2 separate regions of the Homo sapiens genome follow, and region 2 is linked to region 1. Evidence: promoter capture Hi-C in 16 types of primary human blood cells and fetal thymus (Javierre and others, 2016). All regions are on one chromosome and are shown on one strand. The core of a region is centred on a gene start or on the middle of the fragment in contact, and the rest is flanking DNA. Distances in the headings are between cores, read along the strand shown. Region 1 holds the start of IQCF6 (IQ motif containing F6). Region 2 has its middle 26 kb from the start of GRM2.

The links. Contacts are between HindIII fragments. The CHiCAGO score rates a contact against its expected background, and 5 or more counts as called.
Region 2: a fragment that was not itself captured here is called in contact with the fragment with the promoter of IQCF6 in region 1 in 1 of 17 cell types (M2 macrophages); the score reaches 5.3 in M2 macrophages.

What each region holds. Positions count from the first base shown.
Region 1 is chr3:51,777,804-51,780,503 of GRCh38, forward strand. It overlaps IQCF6 (IQ motif containing F6), which reads right to left and starts at 1,434. Exons shown (of 2, transcript NM_001368369.1): 1 at 1,350-1,434; 2 at 760-1,188. The coding sequence starts at 1,421. The coding sequence ends at 820. All of the region lies in intron 2 of LOC105377087 (a long non-coding RNA gene), which reads left to right. The HindIII fragment of the contact is 3,019 bases long and covers 1-1,789 here.
Region 2 is chr3:51,731,490-51,734,189 of GRCh38, forward strand. No RefSeq gene overlaps it. Among named protein-coding and RNA genes, the nearest start is that of GRM2, 26 kb to the left of the region's middle. The HindIII fragment of the contact is 4,672 bases long and covers 1-2,700 here.

The DNA of each region.
Region 1 (2,700 bases), core at 184-2,683:
TTAGAGGCTGTGTGCCCAATGACCTCCAGTGGCAGAGGGACAACCCTTTCCCCTGCCTATCCCTAGTCCTCTGTTTGTTTACCTGCCCCCATGCCACCCCCACAACCATCCCCCCACAGCCCCCAAGTCTCTCTCCCCTCCCTGATCCCATGCCTGGTTCTCCAAGGAAGTGCCCAGCAGAGGGGAGGGAAGCCTTGTTGTTCAGCCCCAGGGTGGGCAGGCGGCAGGCACAGCTGCTGCCCTCAGCTCCTGCTCTGGCTTCCCCAGGGGCTGGCTCTGGCTGGCTGCTCCCTGACTCCCTTCCCCACCATAAGGCACAGCGTCTGTCCTGCTGTTGCCCAGCTGAAGTGCCATGTCCTCCTGGCTCCCTGCCAAGCACTCTGCCGGCCCTGAGGGCCTTGCCAAGCACAGGCCTGTGGAATCCTGGCCTTCCCAGCTGGCCCTGGCTGCAGCCAGATTCTCTGATCTTCTGATCTGAATGGAGATGCCTGGACAGGGGCTGCAGGAAACTAAAGCCCAATGCCTACTCCCACTGTGGAAGGGGCCAAAATCAGGCTGACTGAGGCATCATTGCTTGACCTGGGCCCTGGGGTCTCTCTTGGATGCAAGACTGTCCCGGTATGCTGTTAGGAACAGGGGCCTAGGTTGGTGACCTGAGGACAGGGGCTCTAGACCACACCAGGGAATCTTTCTGGGGGGAAGGCAGAAAACTTAGAGGCTGAACCCTCCTCCATGAGTCTAATCTCCAAAGGGCAAGTGTATGGTCAGTAAGGGTCTTTATTGGAAGAGAGATCCAGCCTCCTTGGCTCTGTCAGCGCCCTAGGTCATGAGGATTTCGATGTCAAGCTCCAGCCGGCTGGCTCTGACCTCATAGTGGCCCCGGATCAGGCCTCGGGTTTGGCTGGCATGCCAGCGCCAGTGAGACTGGATGATGCAGGCCGCTTGGCGTGCCTGGAGGAACCGCCTGCGGGCCTGCCACATTCGAACCTGTGCCTGCACCTTCACCACCGCCCACTCCTGGCAGGTATAGAGTCTTAGTGCCAGGCGCCGTCTTTGCTCCAACATCTTGGCCTGCATTGACCTCCACCAGCACTGGATGACCCAGGCTCTGAGTGCTGCCTGCAGTAACGTCCGGCGCACCATGTTTCCACGCCACCATGACTGAATCTTTATGGCTGTCTTCTCTAACTGATTGGGGGAAAGGAAAAACAGGGAGATGCTCAATGGGGGACCCTCCCCTCCTGTTCCTATCCCCATCTCTGATCTTGGGAGGAAAGAAGGCCTGGCCCAGGTGCCCCTGACTTCTTGTTTCTAGGGCCCATCCATCTTGTTTCCAATCCCCCACTCACATTTAGACACGGTTCATTACCTGTCAGGTAAGTCCCTACTGCAAGGGCCTTACTCACATTTTGCGTGTCCATGGCCTTGATCCTTAGGGTCCACTTATCTGTCACTTAGGCCACCCTTGTCTTTAGCCCCACCCTCAACTGTTAGTCACACCTCCATCATTGGACTCCGCCCACTTGCACACAAGACTCTACCTCATCAGGTCCCGTCTGCACGCATTTTAACCACATTTCTCTCTCCTCTTCTCTTGCTTTCATCTCTTTTGCTTTATTGATTCCCACCACTTTGGGAGCCTACCATTATCTCTTGCCTTCAGTTTATTTCTCAGCCCCAGTGGCATTCCTGATCCTCCTGATGGCAGTGAAGAGAGAGTCATGCAGCTTACCTACAAGGAAGGAGTTTTACTTTAAGCCTCTACTCATAGCCAATTTGGATTTCCTGAAGCTTAAGTGTCAGGGCGCCTGTCAGGGCCCGAGGAACGTGTTTACAGAGCTGTATATTTTTGGGTAAAATTTGTGAAAGCAAGATATTTCAGCTGCAATTGGAGAGGACCTCTGTCTCTCTTCCCTCTTACTCCCTCTGTCACTCACCTCCTGTTGAGTGGGGTGGAATGGCAACCTCTTTTGCCACGAGACTAAGGGAAGGCTGAGTTGGGATAGACTCAGTTTTTTTTTTTCTTTTTTTTTTTGAGACAGAGTCTCGCTCTGTCGCCCAGGCTGGAGTGTAGTGGCACAATCTCGGCTCACTGCAAGCTCCGCCTCCCAGGTTCAGGCCATTCTCCTGCCTCAGCCTCCTGAGTAGCTGGGACTACAGGTGCCCGCCACCACGCCCGGCTAATTTTTTGTCTTTTTAGTAGAGACGGGGTTTCACTGTGTTAGCCAGGATGGTCTCGATCTCCTGACCTCGTGATCCGCCCTCCTCTGCCTCCCAAAGTGCTGGGATTACAGGCGTGAGCCACCGCGCCCGGCCTAGACTCAGTTTAACAGCATAGATTTGTGTGGTTCACAGTCACCCTTGGGAACACATAAATCCTTGCTAGCCATTCTGCTGTTGCTGTGTTCATTCACCTTGCTCATGGCGTGAAGATGCAGGAACAGAAGGGCTGCTATCCAATAAGAACGTGTCTTCCAGTGCTGGCACCAAAAGTATTTGGGCAGGGGAGGAAAAGTAAATGTGAAAAGTATGGAACCAGAAGCCAGTCTGTAGAAAATTCTTCCTGTTATTAGATGTGTAAAACTATAAGTGGAAGATTCAAGTCTCATTGATGCCTGATTAAAATTGAAGCTCTCTCTTTTCAGGAATATACTTGACAATGCAATGATACAATTTTAAACATTTCCATACTTTTTTCTT
Region 2 (2,700 bases), core at 70-2,569, 46 kb before region 1:
CCGTGATTACAGGTATGAGCCATTATGCCTGGCCTCTTCATCTTTTTTCAATTTATGTATGTCTTTATATTTAAAGTGGGTTTCTTGTAGACAACATACAGTTATGTCTTGTGTGATTCACTTTAACCACCTCTGTCTTTTAGTTGGTGTATTTAATCCATTGAAATTTATTGATATAGATAACTATTAGGTTGGTGCAAAGGTGATTGCAGTTTTTGCCATTGAAAGTGATATCTGTCAGATTCATCATTGCTTTCTATTTGTTGTCCTTTTTCTTTGTTTCTGTCTTCCACTCTTTTTCTGCCTTTTGTTGTTTAACTGATCACCTTATATGATTCCATTTCTCCCTTTCCATATCAGTAAGACTTAGCATATCAGTAATACTTCTATTTTTTTAGTAATTGCCCTAGAGTTTGCAAAATACATTTACAACTAGTCCAAGTTCACTTTTAAGTAAAACTATGCCACTTCATGGGTAATGCAAGTATCTTATAATAAAGTATTCTTAATTCCTCCCTCCTATCCCTTGTATTATTGCTGTCATTCTTTCACTTCTACATAAGCTGTAATCACTAAATACATTGTAGCTATTGCTATTATTTTGAATAAACTGTTATCTGTTAGATCAATTAGAAATTAATTTTTAAAGTTCTTATTTTACCTTCACTTAATTATTTCTAATGTTTTTCTTTTCTTTCTGTAATCTGAATTTCTGATTATATCATTTTTCTTCTCTCTGAAGAATTTATATTTATTTATTTATTTTTGAGACAGAATCTTGCTCTGTCACCAGGCTGGAGTGCAGTGGCGTGATCTCGGCTCACTGCAACCTCTGCCTCCTGGGTTCAAGTGATTCTCCCGCCTCAGCCTCCCGAGTAGCTGGGATTACAGGCGTGCGCCACCATGCCCAGCTAATTTTTTGTATTTTAGTAGAGACGGGGTTTCACCATGTTGGCCAGGATGGTCTCGATCTCCTGACCTTGTGATCCACCCGCCTCCGCCTCCCAAAGTGCTGGGATTACAGGCGTGAGCCACCATGCCTGGCCTCTCTCTGAAGAATTTCTTTTAACATTTCTTGCAAGTCAGGCCTACTGGCAAAAAATTCCCTCAATTTTTGTTTGTCTGAGAAAGTTGTTATTTCTCCTTCACTTTTGAAGAATAACCTCAAAAGGTACAGAATTCTGAGTCAATGACTTTTTTCTCTCAACTCTTTAAATATTTCACACCATTCCTTTCTTGCTTGCATGGTTTCTGAGAAGTTAGATGTAATGCTTATCTTTGCTCTTCTATAGGTAAGGTGTTTTTCCCTCTGGCTTTTTTCAAGATTTTCTCCAATTTTCTGTAGTTTCTTTCTTTCTTTCTTTCTTTCTCTTTTTTTTGGCTCGGAGTTTTGCTCTTGTTGCCTAGGCTGAAGTGCAACAGTGCAATCTCTTGGCTCACTGCAACCTCTGCCTCCCAGATTCAAGTGATTCTCCTGCCTCAGCCTCCTGAGTAGCTGGGATTACAGGCGCCCACCACCATGCCCGGCTAATTTTTGTATTTTTAGTAGAGATAGGGCTTCACCATGTTGGCCAGGCTGGTCTCGAACTCCGAACTTCAGGTGATCCACCTGCCTTGGCCTCTCAAAGTGTGGGATTACAGGCATGAGCCATCATGCCAGGCCTGCAGTTTCAATATGATATGCCTAGTTATAGTTTTTGTTTGTTTTGTTTTGTTTGTTTTTGTTTTCTTGGCATTTATCATGCTGGGTGCTCTCTGAGAGTCCTGGATCCATCGTCAGTGTCTGAAACTAAATTGGGAAAATACTCGGTCATTATTGCTTCAAATATTACTTCTGTCTTGTTCTCCTTTTCTTCTCCCTCTGGTATTCCCATTATGTATATGTTTCTTACACTTTTTGTAGTTGTTTTGCAGTTCTTGGATATTCTGTCCCATTTAAAAACCTCATTGCTTTTCATTTTAGAAGTTTCTATTGATATATACTCAGGCTCAGAGATTCTTTCCTCAGCCATGTCCAGGTTACTAATGAGCGCATCAAAGTCACTCTTAATTGTGTTACAGTGTTTTGGGTCTCTAACATTTTCTTTTTATTCTTTTTTAGAATTTTCATCTCTCTGCTTACATTATCCATCTGTTCTTATATGTTATCTACAATTTCTATTAGAGCCCTTAGCATATTAATTACAATATTTTAAATTCCTGGTCTGATAACTTAAATTTTTTTTTAAATTTTATTTTAAGGTCCAGGATACATGTGCAGGAAGTACAGGTTTGTTACATAGGTTTAAACATGTGCCATGGTGGTTTGCTGCAACCTATCAACCCATCACCTAGGTAATTAAGCCCCACATGCATTAGCTATTTTTCCTGATGCTCTGCCTCCCGCTGCGCCCCTCAAGAGGCCCCAGTGTGTGTTGTTTCCCTCCATGTGTCCATGTGTTCTCATTGTTCAGCTCCCACTTATAAGTTAGAACATGTGGTGTTTGGTTTTCTGTTCCTGTGTTAGTTTGCTGAGGATAAAGGCTTCCATCTCTAACCATGTCCCTGCAAAGGACATGATCTCATTCCTTTTGATGGCTGCATAGTATTCCACAGTGTATATGTACCACATCTTCCTTATCCAGACTATCACTGATGGACATTTGGGTTGATTCAATGTCTTTGGTATTGTGAGTAGTGCTGCAGTGAACATACATGTGC